4 separate regions of the Homo sapiens genome follow, and regions 1, 3 and 4 are each linked to region 2. Evidence: promoter capture Hi-C in 16 types of primary human blood cells and fetal thymus (Javierre and others, 2016). All regions are on one chromosome and are shown on one strand. The core of a region is centred on a gene start or on the middle of the fragment in contact, and the rest is flanking DNA. Distances in the headings are between cores, read along the strand shown. Region 1 overlaps CAB39L (calcium binding protein 39 like). Region 2 holds the start of DHRS12 (dehydrogenase/reductase 12). Region 3 overlaps SETDB2-PHF11 (SETDB2-PHF11 readthrough). Region 4 overlaps KPNA3 (karyopherin subunit alpha 3).

Evidence for each region. Contacts are between HindIII fragments. The CHiCAGO score rates a contact against its expected background, and 5 or more counts as called.
Region 1: a contact is called between a fragment that was not itself captured here and the fragment with the promoter of DHRS12 in region 2, in 1 of 17 cell types (fetal thymus). The highest score is 5.4, in fetal thymus.
Region 3: a fragment that was not itself captured here is called in contact with the fragment with the promoter of DHRS12 in region 2 in 1 of 17 cell types (activated CD4 T cells); the score reaches 5.4 in activated CD4 T cells.
Region 4: a contact is called between a fragment that was not itself captured here and the fragment with the promoter of DHRS12 in region 2, in 1 of 17 cell types (fetal thymus). The highest score is 6.0, in fetal thymus.

Annotation. Positions count from the first base shown.
Region 1 is chr13:49,438,924-49,441,677 of GRCh38, reverse strand. The region is part of intron 1 of CAB39L (calcium binding protein 39 like); the gene reads left to right. Among named protein-coding and RNA genes, the nearest start is that of CAB39L, 3.8 kb to the left of the region's middle. The HindIII fragment of the contact is 4,167 bases long and covers 1-2,754 here.
Region 2 is chr13:51,802,738-51,805,466 of GRCh38, reverse strand. DHRS12 (dehydrogenase/reductase 12) reads left to right here and starts at 1,304. Exons shown (of 9, transcript NM_001377533.1): 1 at 1,304-1,413. It overlaps LOC107984561 (a long non-coding RNA gene), which reads right to left and starts at 1,631. Exons shown (of 2, transcript XR_007063805.1): 1 at 666-1,631. RefSeq lists an enhancer at 424-553 and a silencer at 1,104-1,743. The HindIII fragment of the contact is 7,862 bases long and covers 1-2,507 here.
Region 3 is chr13:49,501,428-49,504,467 of GRCh38, reverse strand. All of the region lies in intron 12 of SETDB2-PHF11 (SETDB2-PHF11 readthrough), which reads right to left. The region is part of intron 1 of PHF11 (PHD finger protein 11); the gene reads right to left. Among named protein-coding and RNA genes, the nearest start is that of PHF11, 7.0 kb to the right of the region's middle. The HindIII fragment of the contact is 1,170 bases long and covers 1,027-2,196 here.
Region 4 is chr13:49,785,868-49,788,838 of GRCh38, reverse strand. The region is part of intron 1 of KPNA3 (karyopherin subunit alpha 3); the gene reads left to right. Among named protein-coding and RNA genes, the nearest start is that of KPNA3, 5.3 kb to the left of the region's middle. The HindIII fragment of the contact is 307 bases long and covers 1,335-1,641 here.

The DNA.
Region 1 (2,754 bases), core at 162-2,661, 2.4 Mb after region 2:
ATTTGTAATGGCCAAAACTGGAAACAACCAGATTCCACTAGGAAATAGATTTTTTTAAACTCCAGCATGTCCATACAGTGTAACATAGGAACCTCCTTTTTATTTTCTTTAGAGATGGGATCTCGCTATGTTGCCCAGGCTGGAATACAGTGGCATGATCACAGCTTACTGCAGCCTTGACCCCCCAGGCTCAAGTGAACCTCCCTCCTCAGCCTCAAGAGTAGCTGGGACTATAGATATGTGCCACCATGCCTGGCTAATTTTTTGGAGAGATGGCATCTTGCTATGTTGCCCAGGCTGGTCTCAAACTCCTGGACTCCAGTGATCCTCCTGCTTTGGCTTCCCGAAGTGCTAGCATTATAGGCATAAGCCACTGTACCTAGCCGGGAACCTCCTTTTAGTATATAGTTATATAAATATATGGGAAAAGGGAATATATATATATATATATATATACACTAAATCATTATAAGAAAATCATCAAAATAAGCCATAAAACATTGCACGAGATTATGAAAACATACCCCAAAAATGTGGCCACAAAGCAGATGAAAATGACAATCTAAATATTTCAGAGTAAGCTAAGAGAATTTAAGGAAAAGATGAAATCTTTGAAAGAACCACATAAATTCAGAAATAAGAGCTCAGACATGAGATACGTAGGAAGTTCTAGCCAGAGCAATCAGGCAAGAGAAACAAAAGGCATCCACATAGGAAAAGAAGTCAGACTATCTCTCTTGGCTGATGATCTGATTGTATACCTAGAAAACCCTAAAGACTCCACCAAAGGCTCTTGGAACTGATAACTTCAGTAAGTTTCAGGATACAAACTCTGTACAAAAATCAGTAGCGTTTCTATACCAATAATGTTGGAGCAGAGAGCCAAATCAAGAATGCAGTCCTGTTTACGATAGCCATACACACACACACACACACACACACACACACACACACACACACACTGCCTAGGAATACCTCTAACCAAGGAAGTGAAAGATCTCTACAAGAACTACAAGACACTGCTGAAAGAAATCATTGATGACACAAACAAATGGAAAAACACTCCATGCTCATGGATTGGAAGAATCAATATCATTAGAATCGCCATACTGCCCAAAACAAGCTACACATTCAGTGCTACTGAATGTGTAGCTTGTTTCAAATTATACTTTGAGGCTACAGTAACCAAAAAAGCATGGTACTGGTACAAAAACAGACATATAGGCCAATGGAGCAGAATAGAGAGCCCAGAAATTAAGCTGTACACCCACAGCCATCTGGTCAACAAAATTGACAAAAGGAAGCAATGGAGAAAGAACTTCCTATTCAATAAATGGTGCTGGGATAACTGGCTAGCCATGTGTATAAGACTGGGCTTCTACCTTACACCACATACAAAACTGGACTTCTACCTTACACCACATACAAAAATCAATTCAAGATGGATTAAAGATTTAAATGTAAGAACTCAAACAGTAAGAATCCTAGGAAAAAATCTAGGAAACATTCTGGACATCAGCCTTGGGAAAGAATTTATGACTAAGTCTTCAAAAGCAATTGCAACAAAAACAAAAGTTGACAAGTAGGACCTAATTAAACTAAAGAGCTTCTGCACAGTAAGAGAAACTATTAACAGAGCAAACAGATAACCTGCAGAATAGGAGAAAATATTTGCAAACTATGCATCTGACAAAGGTCTAATATCCAGAATCTATAAGGAAGTTAATTCAACAAGCAAAAAAAAAAAAAAAAAAAACCCATTAAAAAGTGGTCAAAAGACATCAACAGACACTTCTCAAAAGAACAAGTGGCCAATAAACAGATGAAAAAATGTTCCACATCACTAATCATCAGAGAAATGCAAATCAAAACCATAATGAGACATCATCTCACGCCAGTCAGAATGGCTCTTACTAAAAAGTCAAAAAACAACAGATGTGGGCAAGGCTGCAGAGTAAAGGGAACACTTACACACGGTTGGTGGGAGTGTAAATTAGTTCAGCCACTGTGGAAATCAGTTTGAAGGTTTCTCAAAAAACTCAGAACTACCATTTGACCAGCAATCCCATTATTGGGTGTATATCCAAAAGAAATTGTTCTACCAAAAAGATACATGCACTCATATGTTCATCATAGTGCTAGTCACAATAGCAAAGATGTGGAATCAACCTATGTGTCCATCAGGGATAGATTGGTTACATATGAACCGTGGAATACTATGCAGGGAAGGAATGCAATAAGTGTTGAAAAACTAACTGTTGAGTATAATGCCCAGTACCTGGATGACAGGATCTGTCATACTCCAGACTTCAGCGTTACACAGTATACCCATGTAACAAATCTGCACATGTACCCCCAAATCTAAAAGAGAACTTGAAATTATAAAAAAGTAAATAAAATTCACCTCTTTCTATGTTTTCAGGGGAAAAAAAGAAATGAGATGGCTAGACCATAGAAGGAGGTGCAATGAGAGCAGACAAAACTCAATAAAAGATTAAGAAAAAGACAGTTTAAAGTGATGATTGCATTAGAAACCAAGAGTGAATATACATCACAGAAAGTACGATAAGAAAAATGGAAAAATGAAGAAAATAAAAAGATTTTTAAAAAGGAGTCAAGAGGTGACAAGACAGGCAAAGAGAGCCAGAATAAATATAAATGGAGTTCCCCAAATGTAAGCCCAAGGATAGTGGTGATGTTTATGTAACACTGAATATACTTAATGCCACTTATTGAATACTTTAAAACAGTAAA
Region 2 (2,729 bases), core at 55-2,554:
TGCTGACACCCTCCAAGAGACTTGGTGGTTCAAAACTATTTCTCATCCCCTCTCTGCGAGCCAAAAGCCTATTTCCTGAGGTGTTCAGAGAGATTCAGAGCAGATTGACACCTTTTCCATCACTGACACAAAGAGGAGGGTATAAAAAACAGTATGTAGCCCTGGGGATCTAAAATATTTTCCCAGCCAAATCGGACAGGCATTGAAAGTCACACAGGCTGGGGTGGTTTTACAAAATGCCACTTGTTTAAATTTCCTTTCATCACTCTGTCAGGAATAACAGCAACGTAGTGGAGCCTCAGAGTCCTGTTGAGAGGGGCGAGCTGTTCCGGGGAAATTTATTTCAAAAGTTATTCTGAAGTAAAAACTTGCCCACTGTGGAGTGAGGTTGGACAGTGATCCTATATCCTAGGTAATGAGGCTATTAAAGCAGCTGGTCTCTTCAGCTTATGTAAGTGGGGCCCAGTCTCTGGGCGACTTGGGTAAACCGGTATAGAATTTAACAGGGTGACTAGGAGTGACAGCAGCAGTAAGACCCCCATTTCTAATGTGGCGTTAGGGCTGGAGGTTAGATGTGGACAGGGGTGTCTGAGTCCTACATAATGGGGCTGGATGACTAGTCTGAGATCTGGGTTCACGCAGCAACCACACTCTTTTTTACTCACACTGTTCATCTGGGCTTGGGTGGAAAGAGGCTGATGAGGATTTGGGGGAAATCAAGGGGCTCTCCCTGGCATTGCATGAAGTCGCAGAACCAGTGGCAAAAGTCCAACTTTGGAGACAATTACTTCTCGGGTGGGAGCCCCAGCCCTGCCTCTTGCCTGCGATGTCGCCAATCTGACTGCGCTTGCTGGAGACGGGAAATGTGGCACGGCACTGCATCCCCCAACACGTGTAGAAACTTAGAGAATGCCAGTTATTAAAATAACCCTTATGATAACACCAATTCGATGCAGAAGTCTTTTAAATATCATAAGCCTCGTCGTTTTATTCCACATGGTTTTCTAGGTAACCAAATTCTAGGAGGTGCGTTGCAGGGCCATCTTCGCATCCCGGCCATGCCCAGCAGGACGGTGTTCTCTAAACGGCGCTGATGCCCGATTTCGACCCCGAGGAGACTGCGGACCTCGACTGCGGCCCCCACCAGGGCCGGTCCGCCCTCACTCCACCCTCTGAGGCTGGGGCGGAGTCGACCGGCCGGCCCCGAGACCCCTTGCCTTACCGGTGGAGCAAGGAACCGGAAGCCGCGGCTCTTACATAACCGGGATGATGTCAGGGCGGGCGACTCCCGGGGGGCGGGACCAGGGCGGAGGCCGCGCCGGGAGCGCGGTGGGGCTAGGCGTGGGGCGCTCCCGGCATGTCCCTGTACCGCAGCGTCGTGTGGTTCGCCAAGGGGCTGCGCGAGTACACCAAGTAAGGCGGCGCGGCGGGGCGCGGGGCCCCGGGCTGTCACGTGGCCCGCCTCGGCGCGGGCGAGCAGGGTTGGCGGGGACGCGCCCGCGGCTCCTTCGCCCTCTCGCTGGGCCGACTAAGCGTGTCCAGAACGACGGGTGCGCCCGCCGTCTAGCGACCCACGGCTGGGCGTGGGGCAGTCGCCAGACTCCAGCCGCTCAATGCCCGCGACCGAGACTGGCGCCCGAGGGGCGGGGCTGTGGCGCGCCCAAGCCCAGGGCCGTCCCACTGACGTCAGGCGGCCCCGGCGCCAAGGAGCCTCTTGGGCGGCACCTCGGCGCCCCGCTGGGTGTGCTCGTGGAAGTGTCTTCGTGGTGCTGCTGGCGGCGTCAGATAGGGCTGGATCTAAATCGCTAGCTAAGGCTCTGTCCTAGTGCCTTTGGGTGTGTTTCCTTTAAAAAGATGCAGCACCTGGACTGCGACCTTTGGCTCCAGCTGGAACTTTCCAGCCAGTGTGTGCTTCTGGGGAACGGTGCGTGGTGGTTTCGTCGCCCCGTGACCACGCTCAGTGTGCCCTAGTTGGCTCTCCACCTCATTGTGGTTTTAAGAGGTGACAGGTTCCTGTGACGGAGGAGAGATGGAGGTTTTCTCTTAGAATTGATTAGGCTAACCGCTGGTTCTCAACCCTGTCTGCACATCAGAATCACTGGGCGAGAATTAAAAGTACCCAGTTTTCAGGCCCCATCCCTACAGATTCTGATTTAGTGGATCTGCACAGGGGCCTGGACTGGCATTTCATCCAAATGCCCCAGGTGATTCTCACCTCTGAGAGGCTTCTCCCTGCACTGGGGCTTTATCAGTTCCCACGGCAACCTGGCCAGCACTCCTAGGGGAGGTAGGAGTTGCAACTCCCTGCTCTTCACCCCACATCGTTTTGGAGAAGGTTCAGCTCTGTCTCAGGAGCCCCTGCTGCAGAGAATGGTGGGGAGTGTAGTCGTGAGCCCTGTCCCACAGTTTTTAGGGGAATACAGTGGCAGCCTCTTTCTTTCAAAGGGGTGTCCTCTGGCAATGACCATTAATTGCTGGATCTTTCCACATTACACAGCATGAAAGCTTAAGTCAGTTTCCAACCAGGGGTGGGCCCCAAGGAAAGCAGACTGTAAAAATTTCTCCCAGGACTCTTTCGCTCTGATTTCCCCACCTTGAGGGAAGGTAGAAGTGAGGCCAAGGGGCCCAATCCACCACAGATTGGTGGGGGAAGGGAGGGGAGGGGAAGGCAGTTGGCAAAGTTAGATGGGTTTTCCTGCTGTTGTGGATTTAGTGAATAGGAGAGAAAA
Region 3 (3,040 bases), core at 362-2,861, 2.3 Mb after region 2:
TATCTTTTTTTTTAGACAGAGTCTCGCTCTGTCACTCAGGTTGGAGTGCAGTGGCGCAATGATGGCTCACTGCAACCTCTGCCTCCAGGGCTCAAGTGATCCTCCCACCTCAGTCTCCCACCTCAGTAGCTGGGACCACAGATATAGGCCACCATGTCTGGCTAATTTTTGTTATTTTTTTTTTTAGAGACAGGGGTCCCATTATGTTGCCCAGGCTGGTCTCAAACTCCTAGGCTCAAGATCAGCCTGCTTGGCCTCCCAAAGTGCTGAGATTACAAGTGTGAGCCACTGCACCCAGCCTGAGAGCATTTCTTGTGTTTGAGTCACTATGTTGTGCACTCTAGACCGATGCTGTCCAACAAGAAACATATAACAAGACACAAATGTGAGCCACAGATATCACTGAAAACTTTCTAGGAGCCTCATTAAAAAAATCAAAAAGGAGGCTGGGCCTAGTGGCTCACGCCTATAATCCCAGAACTTCGGGAGGCTGAGGTGGGTGGATCACCTGAGGTCAGGAGTTCAAGACCAGCTTGGCCAACATGTCACTACTAAAAATACAAAAAAATTAGCCCAGTATGGTGGCACACACCTGTAATTCCAGCTACTTGGGAGGCTGAGGCACGAGAATTGCTTGCACCCAGGAGGCAGAGGCTGCAGTGAGCTGAAATTGTGCCACTGCACTCCAGCCTGGGCAACAGAATGAGGCTCTGTCTCAAAAACGACACAAACAAACAAACAAAAAACCCAAAAAAGAAACAGGTGAAGCTAATAATGTGCTTTATGCAACCAAATATGTCAAAGAACTTACATCCTTTCAACATTTAGTCAATATAAAAGTTATTCATTCTTTTGTACAGAGTCTTTGAAGTCCAGTGTGTATTCTGTGCTTAAAGCATGTCTCAATAGGACCAGTCACATTGTACGTGCTCAACAGCTATCTGTGGTGAGGGGCTCCTCTAGTGAATAGTAGAGCAGAGGACGTAAAGAAATGTGGTGAGATAGAACTGGTGTCTGCAAGAAGCTTACGAAATAAACAGGGAGACTAAATAGCAGTTAGGAAAATAAAATGGCAGAATTAAGTGTCACAAAGTGCAACTGCCAAGTGAGTGGGAATTCCAATACACGCTAAGGAGGTAGCCGAGGAAGTGCTCCTCGTGGGAAGGAGTATTGTCAAGGGCAGGGGCCTGGAACTGGTACAACCTGGAGAGGAGGGAAAGGTGGGGTGGGTTGGGGTATGGGCTAGGAGGAACACTGTAGAGGGAAGCAGCCATATGGGAAAAGGCCCAGAGATCGGAGCTGAGACAGTAAGGCAGCCAGGCTGAGGAGGAAAGGCTGCACAGGAAGCTGGGAAAGGATTTGAGAAACGTGTTGAAAGGCTGCCAAGGAGGATGTCTGAGCAGGAGAAGCACATGATGACAAAGTTGTTTAAGAAGGTCAATCTTGGTCGGGCACGGTGCTCACGCCTGTAATCCCTGCACTTTGGGAGGCCGAGGTGGGTGGATCACAAGATCAGGAGATCGAGACCATCCTGGCTAACATGGTGAAACCCCATCTCTACTACATTAAAAAAAAAAATTAGCTAGGCGTGGTGGTGCATGCCTGTTATCCCAGCTACTCGGGAGGCTGAGGCAGGAGAATCCCTTGGACCTGGGAGGCAGAGGTTGCAGTGAGCCAAGAATGTGCCACTGCACTGTGGCCTGGGCAACAAGAGTGAAACTCCGTCTCAAAACAAACAAACAAATAAACGTATTATCAAGGTACAGTTAGGACAGAAGGTTAGATGATGAAGTCAAAGGAAAGAACACGAAATGCAGAGAGAAGTGGATCATAATCTGGACTTACGAATGTAACATGCAGTAAGGTCACAATCCCATTTCTTCTCTAAGGCACTCATGTCCTTAGCCCATTTTTCTGTTGAATTATTATTTTCTTATTGGTTTATAACAGTCAGGGTATTAACCCTTTGTTAGTCATATATGTGGTCTTTTAACTTTGTTTATAATATTCTTTGATATACAGAATATTTAAATGTTTTACTTGATGAAATTACAACAATCATTTATTTTATGATTTCTGCTCTTGGGTGAGATGGACATAGAAAACACTTACCTCTGTTTTCTTCTAGAATTTTAATTTATTTTAATTAATCAATTTATTTATTTTGAGACAGGGTCTTGCCCTGTCACCCAAGCTTGGAGTGCAGTGGCATGATCATGGCTCACTGCAGCCTCAACCTCCCCAGCTCAAGTGATCCTCTCACCTCAGCCTCCAAAGTAGCTGGGATTACAGGTGCATGCAACCACATCTAGCTAATTTTTAAATTTTTGTGTAGAGGAGGGATCTTGCCATGTTGTCCAGGATGGTTTCGAACTCCTAGGCTCAAGTGATCCTCCCTCCTGAGCCTCCCAAAGTGCTGGGATTACAGGCATGAGGCACCATGTCCTGCCTTAATTTAATTTTAGAATTAAAATATTGGCCGGGCGCGGTGGCTCACACCTGTAATCCCAGCACTTTGGGAGGCCGAGGCGGGTGGATCACCTGAGGTCAGGAGTTCGAGACCAGCCTGACCAACATGGTGAAACCCTGTCTCTACTAAAATTACAAAAATTAGCCGGGCATGGTGGCGGACACCTATAATCCCAGCTACTCGGGAGGCTGAGGCAAGAGAATCACTTGAACCTGGGAGGAGGAGGTTGCAGTGAGCTGAGATTGCACCACTGCATGCTAGCCTGGGCGACAAGGGCGAAACTCCTCAAAAAAACAAAACAAAATGAAACAAAAAAAGAATTAAACTATTCATGAACATAGAATAAATTGTTTTGTAATGTATGAGATGGGAATCTAACTTATATTCATAATGGTTAGCCACTAATTTAAAATCTCCTTTTCATATAGTTGGATCTGTTCCTCCTGTGCTTCTGTTTTATTCCATTGAACAATGCTACACTTAAAATTTTCAATGTTTTAGAATATATGTTAATATTTGACAACACAAAGTCCCCTGCCCTAGGATGAAACTGGGGGAAAAACATCCCAA
Region 4 (2,971 bases), core at 239-2,738, 2.0 Mb after region 2:
GAGCTTGGGTAGGGGATGCATTTTGTAGCAAAAACTAGGAAGTACATATTGAAAGGGAAACATTTCCTTTTATTTGTTCTGGAATGTGCTTTTTTTTTTTAAAAAAAAAAAAAAAAAAAAAGAGGGTCTGGCTCTGTCGCCAAGGGTGGAGTGCAGTGGCCCAATCTCGGCTCACTATAACCTTCGCCTCCTCCCAGGCTCAAGCCGTCCTTCCATCTCAGCCTCTTGAGTAGCTGGGACTACAGGCACATGCCACCACACCTGGCTAATTTTTGTGTTTTTTGTAGAGACGGGGTTTTGCCATGTTGCCCAGGCTGGTTTCAAACTGCTAGCTCAAGTTATCCTCCTGCCTTGGCCTCTAAAAGTGTTGGGATTAGGGGCATGAGTCACCATGCCCGGTCCTGGAATGTGCATTTTAATGCTAGACCTTTTCATGTAAGGCATTGATTCTTAAAAACTTTTCCTGTTTTCAAAGATAACTTATAGAAAAGTGTGCAAAACAGAAATGTTCTGTTTAATGAATAATTACAAAACAAATGCTCAGGTAACTGCAATCCAGGTCAACTCATTTTCTTGCTGCTGTATACCTCAAGGGTGTGACATTTTCATTAGTAACAGTAATTAATTATTTTAAAAACCTTAACATTTATTGTTTACAGTATATCAGTGCTAAGTACTTTATATAGATTATCTATTTAATCTTCACAACAGTCCTATATCAAGTAAGTACTATTATTATCCCCATTTACTGCTGAGGCAACTTGAGGCCTACAACCCTTAAGTAAGTGGCCTTAAGTCTTCCATCGGGTGTTAAGTGGCAAAGCCTGGACTTACAATATATCAAAGCTTTATGCTAAGCGGCTGGGCGCAATGGCTAACGCCTGTAATCCCAGCACTTTGGGAGGCCGAGGCAGGTGGATCACCCGAGGTCAGGAGTTCGAGACCAGCCTGGCCAACATGGTGAAACCCCGTCTCTACTAAAAATACAAAAATTAGCCGGGCATGGTGGCGCGTGCCTGTAGTCCCAGCTACACGGGAGGCTGAGGCAGGAGAATGGCGTGAACCCGGGAGGCGGAGCTTGCAGTGAGTCAAGATCGCACCACTGCACTCCAGCCTGGGCGACAGAGCGAAACTCCGTCTCAAAAAAAAAAAAAAAATACAAAAATTAGCCGGTCCTGGTGGCTCATGCCTGTAATCCCAGCTACAAGGGAGGCTGAGGCGAGAGAATCACTTGAACCGGGGAGGCAGAGGTTACAATGAGCTGTGGTCATGCCACTGCACTCAAGTCTGGGCGACAGAGTGAAACTCTGTCTCAAAAACAAACAAATAAAGCTTGATGCTAAAGCTAGAACTCTTGCTTACTGTGCTGTACTCCACCGAAGGGAGTCTAAGACTTGACATGTACAAACCACGCCTGAAAGTTAGTGAATGGGGAAAATATTGAAGAAATATCGACTATATCACAGAAATTGCTATTTCTATACTTTAAAACCTTGCAAATTTTTGATGAACTTTACTATTAGATTTATTTGCCTTTTTATCTTTTTACTCTTGCAAAGTTTCCTTCTTATCAGCAAGGAGCCAGTTGGTTGGTTTTACCAAAAAATGATAATCCGTATCTTTGGGCTTAACACTTAAGCTTTATGCTTTAGTTTCTGATACCAGGGCTAATATATATTTTCTCACCTGCAAAATTCAGTTAGCTCTACCAGACTTGCTTCTGTCTCTGGAACCTCCAGTGCTAAGTGGCACTATCTGATTGTCCAAGTTTAAGATTCTATCCTTGACTCCCTTCTCTTCCCCTCCTTCACCCTTCTTTGTATTAGTTATCTGAAGAACCCTCATGTTTGTACCTGTTACCAACCTTACTTCCTCTGCCCCTAGTTTAGACCCTTATCTTTGTTGCCTGAACAAGTATAATAGTGTACCTAGCTCTTCTGTGTTCAGTATCTTCTCTCCCCAGTGTATCTTGTGGATTGATCTTTCTCATATCTTTCTGTGTTACTTTCCTGTTTATGATCCTTCCCATTGACTTCAGGATAAAAGTCCTTAGCATGCCACACATAGTTGTAAGACCTTACCTTTTTTACCTCACCTTGCACTTTTCCTTATATCTCCTTTGTGCCAGCTGTGATAAAGTACTGGAGATGCTTGAGTAACCAGTAGTTTCTTCTTCATGCCTTTGTATATGCTGTTCTGTGTGCCTTCTTTTGACTATCTGTTGAGTTGGGGTTCACTCTGGCAACCTATCTCTTCAGTGAGACTCCTTCATATATCTCTGGAACACCAAGATTACAATTCTGCCACACCATGTCATTCTAGTTAAAAACCAAAAACAAAAAAAAACTTTAAAAGTTCTCCATGAGCCTTTCCTGACTTACAGTATACTTGGTACTATCAGTCCCTATTCTTTTCCTCCTCTCTAGTGTTTTCCTAGGTGAATTTTCCTTCACCTATTTGGGATAAATTGCTGTGATGTACAACAAATTCTGTGTTTGTATAGCTATTAAAGTATTTGGGCTCTGTTGAGAAGCTCAGTGAGAATAGATACCTTGGATGTAACTTGAAACATGAAACTTAATGAGAAGAGAGACTAGATGATATACCTGAAAAAAGTCTACATTTGGGAATGAAAGGTTCAGTATTATTCTAAGACATTAATTTTCTTTTGGTGTTGACTCCATGGCATTGATACTGTTGCCTAGCCCTCCTTGAACAGCCTGTTCTCCTATAATGTATTTCTGTAACATGAACTCGCTCATACTTGAATGGTTAATAAAAAAATGTTAAGGCAAAGTTCATATTGGTTCATATGTGATTTTTAGTATCACATTAATGTTTAGCACTCTTAAATAACAACAGTTGAACATAAAGTACAGAAACAGTTGAACGGATCAAGCCCAGGAGTATGCATATTGGCCATGCACCCATGTTCTGCCTCTTGGCTCTGTTTAACCATATGCAGTGTCTA